Linked DNA regions of Homo sapiens: region 1 is linked to region 2. The links are contacts of gene promoters, found by promoter capture Hi-C in human tissues and cell types (Jung and others, 2019). All regions are on one chromosome and are shown on one strand. Each heading gives the region's core, a stretch centred on a gene start or on the middle of the fragment in contact. The rest is flanking DNA. Distances are from core to core; before and after follow the strand shown.

Evidence for each region. The method cuts DNA at HindIII sites, captures the fragments that hold promoters and counts their contacts. A contact is called where the count stands out against the background at its distance.
Region 1: a fragment that was not itself captured here is called in contact with the fragment with the promoter of MAP2K3 in region 2 in 1 of the 25 tissues and cell types used here (spleen).

Annotation. Positions count from the first base shown.
Region 1 is chr17:21,234,578-21,240,553 of GRCh38, reverse strand. NATD1 (N-acetyltransferase domain containing 1) reads left to right here. Exons shown (of 3, transcript NM_152914.3): 3 at 1-1,684. Among named protein-coding and RNA genes, the nearest start is that of NATD1, 16 kb to the left of the region's middle. RefSeq lists enhancers at 1-211, 957-1,701. The HindIII fragment of the contact is 8,520 bases long and covers 1-5,571 here.
Region 2 is chr17:21,280,945-21,286,967 of GRCh38, reverse strand. MAP2K3 (mitogen-activated protein kinase kinase 3) reads right to left here and starts at 2,257. Exons shown (of 12, transcript NM_145109.3): 1 at 1,999-2,257. The coding sequence starts at 2,047. RefSeq lists enhancers at 549-608, 2,685-3,185 and a silencer at 2,269-2,798. The HindIII fragment of the contact is 7,420 bases long and covers 1-6,023 here.

The sequences.
Region 1 (5,976 bases), core at 62-2,561, 45 kb after region 2:
GGACCCAGCTGGCCGCTGGACCGTCCCCTTCCTCATTCTCCAAGCTCATCAACAGGTCTCAGAGGAACATTTCCATAAAAGGTGTGGCCTGGCATGCAGTGCTGTCTGCACGCTGTCGCTTCCCCCACAGCAACCTGCCGGTCAGCCTTAACTGGTGTGGAGGTCGAGGTGGGGAGGGGGAGGCGGGCTTCCCTCCCTGGTGTCTGGCCTCTTTTTGCTCAGCCCTCAGCACAGCCTTCAGCGTGGAGAGCGAGACCCTGCGTGTCACTGGGGCTTGGCTGAGGTCTCCCTGCAGGATAACAGTGACTTCAGGAACCCAGACCCCAGTCTGGGCGGCTCTACCTTCCCGGCTGGCCCAGCCCCCACACCACAGTTCCCTGCCACCTCCAGGCACAAAAGCCTCTGAGGCCACAGCCCAGCTATGAAGCTGAGTGGCTTTGTGCGGTCTCCTAGGGAAGGGGCAGTGATGCCATGCATGAGATCCGCTGTGCCATAAGAAGTTGCTTCCTTTAGAATTTCTGGTCCAATGCAGGGAGGTGAGGCCCAGCCTCATGATAACACATGCCCATCAAGGAAAAGCTGTGGCTAATGCTTCCAAAACAAGTGAAAATCTTGCACCAGGCCCAGGGCCATATCTCATTCCGCCCCAGCTACTGAGGGAGGGGACAGACTGCTGGAGGACAATTTCTCCTAGTTACCACTAGGGGTTACATGGCTACTCAGAATGAAAGATAAATTGCCAGGCCTGTTGCAATCTTTTTTTTGAGATGGGAGTCTTGCTCTGTCGCCCAGGCTGGAGTGCAGAGGTGCGATCTCAGCTCACTGCAACCTCCACCTCCCGGGTCAAGCAATTCTCCTGCCTCAGCTTCCCGAGTAGCTGGAATTACAGGTGCCCACCACCATGCCTGGCTAATTTTTGTATTTTTAGTAGAGACGGGGTTTCACCATGTTGGCCAGGCTGGTCTTGAACACCTGACCTCAAATGATCCGCCCACCTCGGCCTCCCAAAGTGTTGGGATTACAGGCGTGAGCCACCTCACCAGGCCCCGTTGCAATCTTACTCCACTTCGTTTTCACAGCAGTCCCGGGACATGCCCATTATTAGGCCTATTTGATAGATGATACTGAGGCTGAGTCGGGGGTCACAAGCCAAAGCCACACCGCTAGAAGGGCTCAGGACCCAGCCCAGCTCCCGTCCTCTTGGTGGCATCAAGCTTGTGTGATATGAGGTCTTATGTCTGCTCATGACAGCCTTAAAAGCAATAAACAGATACAACTTCCAGCAACTTCCCACTCAGCTGCAAGGCTGCGGGGGGGTCCTGCCTCGAGCCATAAGGTGAGCAGCTAGCCAGTGCCGGGCCAGTGTGGAGAAGGCTGAATTGCCTGTGAAGCTGGGGTTGCAGGCAGGAATATTCATGGAGCCCCTGACCATGTACTCACACTGCTCTTCCTCAGTTCAGGGTTCTTGGATTTGCTCAAGTCCACCCAAATATCCCTTTACGATTCTCAGGGTCCCACTCCTTCCAGATCCAATGCCCTAAACTTTACATAAGAGTTCCGGCAAGGCTGTGACTTCAACTTGTGTTGTAACTGCAACCTGCAGAATCAAATTTAGGGTTATGTTTTCAGTTGTATCAGTCTTACGGCTACAAGATATTAAAGAGATTCTTTTCTGGTTATCAAAGATGCTCTCTGGTTTTCTGTCCATGTTTTGAGCTGGGTTTATCACTTCTGACTCCAGTGTAGTCAGAAGCCACCAGTCTCTCCAGCTGTCCCCATGACATGAAGGGCTGCAGCCATTTGGTCTCTCAAACTTTGCCTTCAAGAGACACTTCACGCCAGGCACTTAACATAGGTGATATTGTGAGGACTAGTTTTGCCACTGAATGCTGTGACTTTCCAGGGTACCACATCCCCTCTGACAGTGAGGTCATTACTGCGTTCCAGCCCAATCCAGGCAGATAACCAGTCCCCGATTTCCAGCATTAAGGCTCTATTTCTAGGAAGTCATTCCTGCTACCAAGGACATTACCAGTCAGTGAAGAGTCAGGAAAATGGAAATTGCCCAGGCACTTCAGAGTGGATTTAATGCAGGGGACTGGTTATGAAAACTGTTGGAAGGATGAGAGGAGTGAGAGTGGAGGTGAGATTGCCAAAATATTGGTAAGTAAGTGCAGGAAGCTGCTTTTACATGGAGGCTGGAGGAACAGGTGTCACCCAGAAGCGTCTGGGGATCACAGGGCTGCTAGGGTACTCCTGGTAGAAAGTTGATGGCTGAACAAGACCCAGGTGTGCATGCCTGCTGTTGCCACCACTAAAAAAACCCCCAGATCCAGGAACTTTACTGCCTTCTGATTGATCAGTGCTTCCTACCAGCAGAAACAAATTGGAAGCCCACTGGTAAGGGCTCTAGCAAATGTAGTTTGCAGGCTTCCAGCTTCTCTGTGATCAGAGAAGGGAAGGGCTGGCAACCAACAGACAATCAGGGCAAGGAGAAATATTCTTGCCTGCAGGGGCTGTGGCATATGACATAAATGCCAGTTCATTGATACCAAGGCTGAGGCAAAGCATCTAGAGGATGACAGACCCCAGAACCAGGCAGACCAAGAATGGATGGATAGTGGGTAGATGATTGGGTGATAGATGGAGGGGTAGATGAGTGGGTGGATGGGTAAGTGGGTGGATGGATGTGTGGACGGGTGAGATAATGGTTATTAGCAATACCAGCTCATCTGCCATCACTAATACCAGCACATCATGCACTGGAGTGCTAAAAGTAAAAGGTCCCTTGTCTTGGGAAGAGCTTGTCTGAGGGTCGAGGGAGACACTTGTAGGCCATTAAACATGGAGTCAGGTGGGAGATCTGGCTGGGTGAGATTCTATCATTTTCTGAATTAGGGAGAGGGTGGAACCCAGGAGTTGAAAGACGGGGCCCCTTGAGCGGTTTGTTCCTGAGAGTTGTCCTGATTCAAGAGGAAACTTGATGGGGTCATACATTGGGTGTGGAAAGACACTGAGACTGCAGGAATAAGCCTCTGCATGGCCATTCTGGAATCTAGGAAAGGAGAGCCAGAGCATAAAAATGTATTGGTGTTTCATCTGCCAACTAAGACAAAAAGTTCAACTAGGTGCCCTGGACTAGGTCGTCTCATTTAAACTTCCCAACAAGCCATGAGGAGAGAACCTGCATCCTGTTCAGGTGGAGCCACTGCCCTTTGGAGATATGTCATCCACACCGTGCTCAGTGAGGGTGACCCAGGCAGATGGGGCTCTATCTTCACAGGACCCGAGTTCAGGGGAGGGGGATGAGAAAGTACACACGTAGCAAGAAACTTTGTGACCAGACTATTGGTGCACACGCAGGCGACGCACCCAGTCCCAATGCGGAGAACTTGCAAGGCTCTCTTGAAGAAGGAGATGTGGGCTGGGGCCTGAAAGATGAGGGAGCTTTGCAAGGGGCACAGCCTGCAGGCCCCAAGGGATCCAGGCCTCATGGTCTCTGACCTCATCTCCCACTACTCTTCTCCTTTCTCACTCCACCCCAGCCACATGGGCCTCCTGCTGGTCCTCGTATCTGCAAAGCTGCTCCCACCTCAGAGGCTATGCCCTCTGCCCAGAGTACTCTTCCCCTAGATATGCTCATGACTCCGTCCCTCACCTCCTTCAGGTCTGTGCCCAATGATCACCTTCTGGATGAGGCCTTCCTTCCCAGTTCTCCCCTGCCTAACATTTAAATTGCCGCCTCCTCCACTTCTGATCCCCTTACCCTGCCCCATTTTTTTCCAGCCATTGATTTTTTCTTACACAATGTATGATTTATTTATTTTATCTGGTTTATTATTCATTGTCTCTCCCAGCTAGAATACAAGCTGCATGAGAGCAGGAGTTTGTTTGTTTTGTTCATTGCAGAATCCCAGCATCTGGATCAGTGCCTGGCACACATTTAGTGCTCAAAACATTTGTTGGGTGGGTGGGTGGGTGAACTAGTGGATGGGTGTGTGGATAGGTGGGTGGATGGATGGATGGGTAAATGGATGAATGAATGGATGAGTGGGTGGGTGAATTAGTGGATAGGTGGGTGGATGGTGGGTGGGTGGATGGATGGATGGGTGGATGGGTGAATGGCTGGGTGGATGGGTGGGTGGATAGATGGATGGGTAGATGAGTGAGTGTATGGATTAAAGGGTGGATGGGTGAGTGGGTAGATGATTGGGTGGATAGATGGATGGGTAGATGAGTGGATGGATGGAAGGATAGGTGAGTGGGCAGATGAGTGGGTGGATGGATGGATGGGTGTGGGTGGATGAGTGGGTGGACAGATGGATGAGTGGATGGATGGATTGGTGGATAGATGAGTGGGTGGATGGATAGATGGACGGGTGGATGAGTGGGTGGATGGATGGGTGGGCAGATGAGTGGGTGAATCAGTGGATGGGTGTGGGTGGATGGATGGCTGAGTGGATGAGTGGGTGGATGGGTGAATGAGTGGATGTGTGGGTGGATGAGTGAGTGGGTGGATGGGTGGGTGGATGAATGAGTGGATGTGTGGGTGGATGGGTGAGTGGATGCATGAGTGAGTGGGTGGATGGATGGGTGTGGGTGGATGAATGGCTGGGTGGATGAGTGGGTAGATGGATGGAAGAGTGGATGAATGGGTGGATAGATGGGTGGGTGGATGGATGGGTAGATGGGTGGATGGGTGGATGGGTGGATGGGTGGGTGACTGGATGAATGGGTGAATGGATGGCTGGGTGGATGGCTGGATGAGTAGGTGGGTGGATGGTTTGGTGGATGAGTGGATGGCTGGCTGGCTGGGTGAATGGCTAGAACAGTGAGGGAGAGAGGGCTCCAGGTGGACTAACCAACATGAGCAAAGACCTAGAGATGAGAGAGTCATGCCATCCTTGAGGAATCGAATGAAGATGAGTGAGGCTGGCAGGGGGAAGGTCAAGGGATGAGACTGGAGAGGTGGGATGGCTGGATGATGGACAGCCCTGAAGTGTGGGAGAGATTGTTAGCAGTTCAATGGGTTTTCACTCATGGGCACACAGCTGCACCTCCTGCCACCCACACAGCAGATGGGGCCTGAGGTCTGCATTCTGCAAGGAGTATGGATATGGGCTCTCTCCAGGCTCTCTCTTTCCCGTTCCACCGCTGAATACCATTGGTTACTAGGCCTTGGGAAGGGTGAATCTACTAACTGTAAAGAACACGGGTTTCCGAATCACTGCATTCAGCTTTTCAGGAGAAAAGCCACGTGCCACTAATGAGCTCTCACTCTGGCTTGTTATGTGAGAAACACATCTCTGTGGTGTTTTAATCATTCTGCATTTTGGGGTCTATTTGTTACAGGAGATAGTGTGCACTAATGAATACCTCAAAATAGAGTGCCGCCATAACTTGAAACCTAAAATATGTACCATTGGCTTAGTGGCCAGGCAGCAGGGAACATGAAAATAGATGTTGCAGAATGGAAAGTGGGAGACTTATGTCATGCAGAGGTGAAATGTTTGTTAGACCTGTAGCCTACAATAGCTTGAAGGGAAGACTGGGAGAAGTAAGCCTGTAGCTCCAGAAGAAGGTGGCTGAGTGAGCTGCAATAAAAATGTATGTTGGGCTGGGTGCGGTGGCTCATGCCTGTAATCCCAACACTTTGGGAGGCCGAGGCAGGCAGATGACGAGGTCAAGAGATCGAGACCATCCTGGCCATCATGGTGAAACCCTGTCTCTAATAAAAATACAAAAATTAGCTGGGCATGGTGGCATATGCCTGTAGTCCCAGCTACTTGGGAGGCTGAGGCAAGAGAATCACTTGAAACCAGGAGGCGGAGGTTGCAGTGAGCCGAGATCGTGCCACTGCACTCCAGCCTGAAGACAGAGCGAGACTCCATCTCAAAAAAAAAAAAAAGTATGTTAGTCATTCCTTTGGTGTACAGTAAGGTATTGTGAGACAGAGACGCACTCAAGCAAGATATA
Region 2 (6,023 bases), core at 1,008-3,507:
CATGGCACATGGAAAAAAAGAAGGAGCTCATAGGGTTTTTGGTGAAGGGCATTGTGGCTCTGCCACCACATCCTTCCCCAGACCCCAAAGAGACTACAGAGTCCCTGGGCCTGAGGGAGGTCCCTGACCCTCCATCCAGCCCCCTCAACCTCATCTAGGACCTGGGTCCACATCTAGAAGTTCATTTTGGCCCTCTCACAGCATTCTCACTGCATCTATGACCCCTCTCCTTTCACAACTCTGCAACTGGAACTTTTATTTTGATGAGGCATTCTCTGCCTGGAGAGCTAAAAAGCCTCCAAAACAAACAGTGCTTCCTACCCTTCCCCGAGCTCTCCAGAGTGGAGAAGTGTCTGATTTCCTGGTTCCCAAGCTCCACGAGGTCTGTGCAGTGCAAGTCCCTCCCCAGACACCTCCCCCGTCGAGTGCCTCCCGAGTTACTCACAGTGGTTGGGCAATGGTCAGGGATCCGGCCTCCCACTTATGTAAGGCATAATTATCCAGCCCACCCGGCTCCAGCCACCATAGCAGCCAGCAGCAGGGGCCAGGAAGAGCCCATGCCCTCCCCAGGCCCACATAGGGCTCCCATTGGCCTGCACCCTCCAGAACAGAAGAGCGGCTGACCCCTGATGAAGTGCCCACTAGGTGCCCGCTGCTAGGTGCTTCCTCCTGCTCACTCTGAGGCTGCACTTCCAGCAGTGGAGGCCTTTCCAGCAAGAAGAATGGAAACAATAGCGAGATGTGTGCAGCCAGTGTACCCTGGTGAGCACCGGCTCTGCGCCAGGTGCTACGCTGAGAGAACGCCTCAGAGCTCTTTACTATTCACCACCCCACACCACACTCCCACGTCCACAGAAGCAGGTGCGATTACTTCCAATTTACAGAAAAGGAAACTGAGGCCCAGAGACACCAGGGAGCTTGCTGGGGTGAAGCAGCTGCAGGTTCAGAAAGCCAGGAGGCAGCCCATTCATTACGGCTATGTCCGGTTTGGAAATCTCTCGCACAACCCAGCCTACTGAAACTCCGACGCACCAAAAACATCCTTTCCTCTTCCTGAAAAAAAAAAAATTCCCCTTTTGCCCTCCGAGTTTCATCCTTCCCCCTCCGCATGACAAATCCTGCTGCTGCCACCTCACAAAAATTTCCAGGAAGGCCAGCTACTTGGAGAAGAGCAAATCCCTTGCACAGCCAGCACCCTGGCCTGGCGGCTGGCCCAGATCCCAGGCAGCCAGGACAAGAATAAGATGGGGTGAGAACCCCCAGTGCAGGGAGAAGCTTGCAACTCAAGACAGAGAGAGGCCGGTAGAGAGGGGGCTGTACCTTAGGGAGGGGTGGGAGGACAAGGAAGGTTCCTGGGAGCCCAGGGCTGCAGGACAGGGTGCAGGCCAGCCAGGGAAGGGGCAACATAGGGCCTATAAGGATAAGAAGAGCTGGGGGAGAGAAGGACGGGGAGTTCCGAGCTGGGGTGTAGCCAGAGCACCCGCATAGGGGGTACAGTGAGGTCCGCAACAACAGGAGCACTCTGGGGCCCAGATGGAGACTCAAGTTAAATCCCAACCTGGATACAGCCCTGGGACCCGAAGCTAGAAATGGGACTGGGTGCTGCCCAAGGACCCAGGTGAAGGCCAGTGTGAATCTCACCTGGGTCCCGCTGAGGGAGAAGACTGGGAGAGTTCATGTCCAGGCTGCAGCCATAAGGCCCAAATGAGGTCAGAATGAGGCTCCTGACTTGGATGGGGTGAGCAGAACAAAGTCCTAGTCTGGGTCCAGCCTGGGTGATCTCGGGCCTGAGTGCAGTCCCAAGGCCTAACGTGGGGGTCCAGGTGAGGGCCCAGGCGGGGGCTGGTCCCGGGACCCCGAACAGGAAGGGGTTCCGGGACCGGACGCCGCTGCCAGGTCGAGAACAGGATGGGGTGGGACCAAAGAAAGGTCGGGGTTTGCAGCCCGGCCCCAGATTAGGCGCGGGGTCAGGCCGAGGTCCCGGCCGGGAGCGCCTACCTTTGGACTGGGGCATGCTGGCGGGCTGGCTCGAGGCGGGCGACTCCATGCTGCAAGTGGGTCCTGGACGGCGGTGGAGACTAATCTAGAGGACTGCGGGCTCCACCGGGGCCGAGCACGCTCATGGCTGCGGGCAGACGGCCCAGGCCAGGCGGAGGAGCAGCGGCGGCGGCGGCGGCGGCGGCGGCGACTGCGGCGAGGACTGCGGCGGCGACTGCAGCAAGGACGAGTCCGCGACGGGCGGCGCCGGAGACAGACTGGGCAGCGCCGGGGAGACCCCGGCCGAACTGCGCTGACTCAGGCCCCGCCCCTGCGTGCCCGATTGGTCCTTTCGTTTCCAAGGCCCGTCCTCTGCCTATCAGACGCCGGCCTGTCCCTGCCTGTCAAGCACACGCCCCACCCTCCTTAGGCCCAGGATCCGGGCCCCTCCCGCTCTCTGTCAAGTCCGCCAGCCGCCCGAAAAACCCAGGTCCGGTCAGGCTCCGCCCCCTGGACTAAAGCCGCGCCCCTCGCGCTGCCCGTCAACATGCAAGCCCCACCCACTCCCGGGACCCACTGAGCCCGCTGCTCCCTGCAGGCGCCCAGGCCCAGCCCGGCACCCCCAGACCCGCAGCCCCGGCGGGTGCGATGCGCGGGCGCGTTCTCCTGGGTGCGTCGTCTGGAAAAAACCCGAGATCCCTAAAGGTGGCACGGCTGGGCCTGCCGAAGTGGGCGGGGGTTAAAAGTGCGCTGCTGGGCTGCCTCCTGGCTCTCTGAACCTGCAGCTGCCTCACCCTAGCAAGCTCCCTAGTGTCTCTGGGCCTCAGTTTCCTTTTCTGTAAATTGGACCCGGGTTCGGATCCGAGTCGGCAGCTTTGTAGCGGAACTAGCCTTGGTCAGGTGGTGACACCTGAGCCTCAGTCTACGCATCTGTGAGCGGGCGGCGGTGACAGCTATCTCCCGGCGCTGCTCGCTAACACGCACTGAGGGCCTGGCGCCAGCAAACGTCGCCCGCGCCCGCGCTCCAGGCGCCCGGCCAGGGCGCGGGGTCGGTGGTGAGCTCAGCGATGCCCGGTGACGAGGCAGCACGAGGAGTTTTCGTGGCTGGTTACTGCTGCCCCTGTTCTACACAGGGGGAAACCGTGTCTCAGAGGGAGTGAGGCGGCATGCGGTGCATTTTATCCCGCGAGCCCCGAGGCCCCATCCTGGCTCTCTCCTGGACCTTCGTTCTCTCCTCTCCTCCTAGGATCTCAGTCTGCCCATCTGCATAATGGCTGGATGGGCCAGTCCTCCCTCTGCTCCCACACGGAACCTCGGGGGATTTCAGGAACCGCTGACCAATCTGGCGCTGGGAACAGATGACTCTGGATGTAAAGCCAGGGCTAGTGAAGGCAGAATGTACCAGGCAAAGGTCAAGGGGTCAGCCCCTGGCCTCCAGGCAGACATGTGTACCCTGTCAGGGACCTCACGTGAGGGAAGCAGATTCCACCACCTGCTAGAAAGGCTTGAGGCCGGGCCTGACCTCTGCTTGCCCAGGTGTAAAGTGGGGGTGATGCAGGGCCCCATGCACAGAGTGGGGAGCCACAGGAGATAAGAGGGAAGCCTTGCAGCCATCACCATTCTCTTCCTGCGTCTCCTGTTCACCCTTCCCAGGCAGTGGGATGGAAAATCATGAGTCTGGGGCTCAGATAGGTATGGGTTCCAATACCAATTCCTCCACTTACTAGCTGGATGACCTTAAAGAAGTCACTGAGCAGCTCTGTGCCTCAGTTTACCTATCCCATGGGGACAATAAGGTCTCTGAAAGCGTTTCATGAGTTCAGGAGTGGAAACACCTGGCCTAGGGCTTGGCACTCACTAGGTGCCCAGGAAATGTGAGTTTGAAAACACTGTGGGCTGCCTCCATCCTTGCCATATCATCCCTGGTGACCTGTGCTTATCCGTCTGTAAAATGGGCATCCAGGAGCAGCTTCCTTTCTACCAGAACTGCAAGGCTAGTCCAGCGAGTTTTCTGGGTTCAGGCACTGGCCAACAGCCTTGACTTCTGCACAAGGCCACACTCCGCCTTGTGCACTCTGCTTCTTGGGATGTTCAAGAGTCTCAGTATTGCCCCTCAAATGTGCCAGGGATGGTCCTGCCGCAGCAGCTTCACCCTTGCTGCTCCTGCCCAGAACATTCTTCCACTCAAGCCTCCTGGGGCTGGTTCCCTCTCATCCCTCAGACCGCTTCCTAAATGAACACCCCTAAGAGGCCTTCTCATCATGGTCCCCAGACTGAGGCACAACACTTATGCTGCTGATGTCTTTGTTACTGACTCAGTTTTTAACACAGCTCTCCCTCCAGACCATCCGAGCCTCATTCCCTGCTGTGTTCCCAATGCATAGCCCAGAACCAGGCACATAGTAGGTGCCTGATAAATATTTGAGGAATGAAAAAAGGAAGGAGGAAAGCATCCACAGACCAGGGTGAAGCGACTCCAGTCCCGTGCCAACCTCCTTGGCGGCCAGATGACTCAGACAGGCCCTCGCATACAAGGAGTTTGGGGATTAGTCAGGAGCCCGATAAACAGCTCAGGAATCACAAAACTCCATGTGAGTGCTATAAATAGATGCATGAGCAAAAGTCCCAGGAGGGTGCCTGGGTGATGCAGCCATCTCCATCTGGGTGGGGACAAGGAAGGCCTCTCAGAGGAGGTGATTTTGAGACTGGACTTTTAAGGACCAGTAGGAGCTTACCAGGCAGAGAAGCAAGAAGAGCATCCCTGGAAAGGAACAGCAGAGGCAATGGGTTGGAGATGTAAAAAGGGCCACACATGAGGACCAGGTGAGGGCCAGACTGGGATGCACAGCTGCACCACTGGAGCTCAAGAAGTACCATCAAGAACCATCAGAGACAAAGGTCTCTTGCTGGCTTGCTATAGTGACATCTCTTGATTTCTTTCTGTCTGTAAGTGGCACAGTCAGATTGGGGAACTCCATGACCATGCAGAAAGCAGAATAAATGTTTGACATGGGTCACAAGAGGCTGCCTCTTACCTTGATTCCTAGGAGAAAAGTCCCAAACCTGCTCTCTGTGGATGCAGGAAACTGAGTCTCTGGATGGGAAGGATTGTGGCCAAAGTCAGGATGCAAGCATGATCTGAGGTGGGCAGGACCTGGGGTGACAGAAGGCTGTAAAGAGAGGCTGACTCAATAGCATTAACTATAAGTTTTGTGCTTCCAAATCACTTTTTGGTTTTTAAGAATTTCTTGATACTATTGTAGCCTGCCTTCGATTTTGATCCTTTATTCTTTCTATTTGTCAGGTGCACAAGATTACCTTCCTTTTTTAGCCTTCTGTCTTGTCACCAACCATTCCTACTTGGTGGCCATGTACTTGGAAAAAGGCCGCATGATCTTTCTGGCTCCAATCAATGTCTAAGGCACCCTGCTTCCTTTGCTTGCATCCCACAGACTATTTCCCTCATCCTATTTACTACAGCAAATCTCTCCTTAGTCGATGAGATTGTGTTTATCTCCCTTTAAAACCCTACCTATCCTGAATGGTCTGTCATTGTCTGCCTTTAAAATCCTTCCTCTTTCTTCTTCCTCTATTCTTTAAATAATGATGGGGCTAAGTTATACCCAAAGCATCACTTTACAAAATATTTCCTCGGTACTTTGCAGAAAACACCAAACAAAAATGCCATTTTAAAAGAGGTGTATTTTTTCTTTTAAAATGTAAGCTCCTCAAGGGCAGGGAAATGTTTTCTGTATGTTCTATTGTGCCTAGTACACTGTAAATGCTCAATAAATACTGATGATGGGGGAAAAAAAAGAGAGAGGCTGACCCAAACCCAGGATGTGGGCAGCTCCTTCATTCATTCAACAGATATTCATTGAGCACTTACTGTGTGACTGGCACTGAGAACACAACATTGAACAAGATGGACACAACTCCCTGGGGAGGTATGACCTGGTGTGTGAGCCAGACAAGCAAAATGCCTAAGTCAAATTATGTCAGGCCAGGCATGGTGGCTCACACTTATAGTCCCAGCAGTTTGGGAG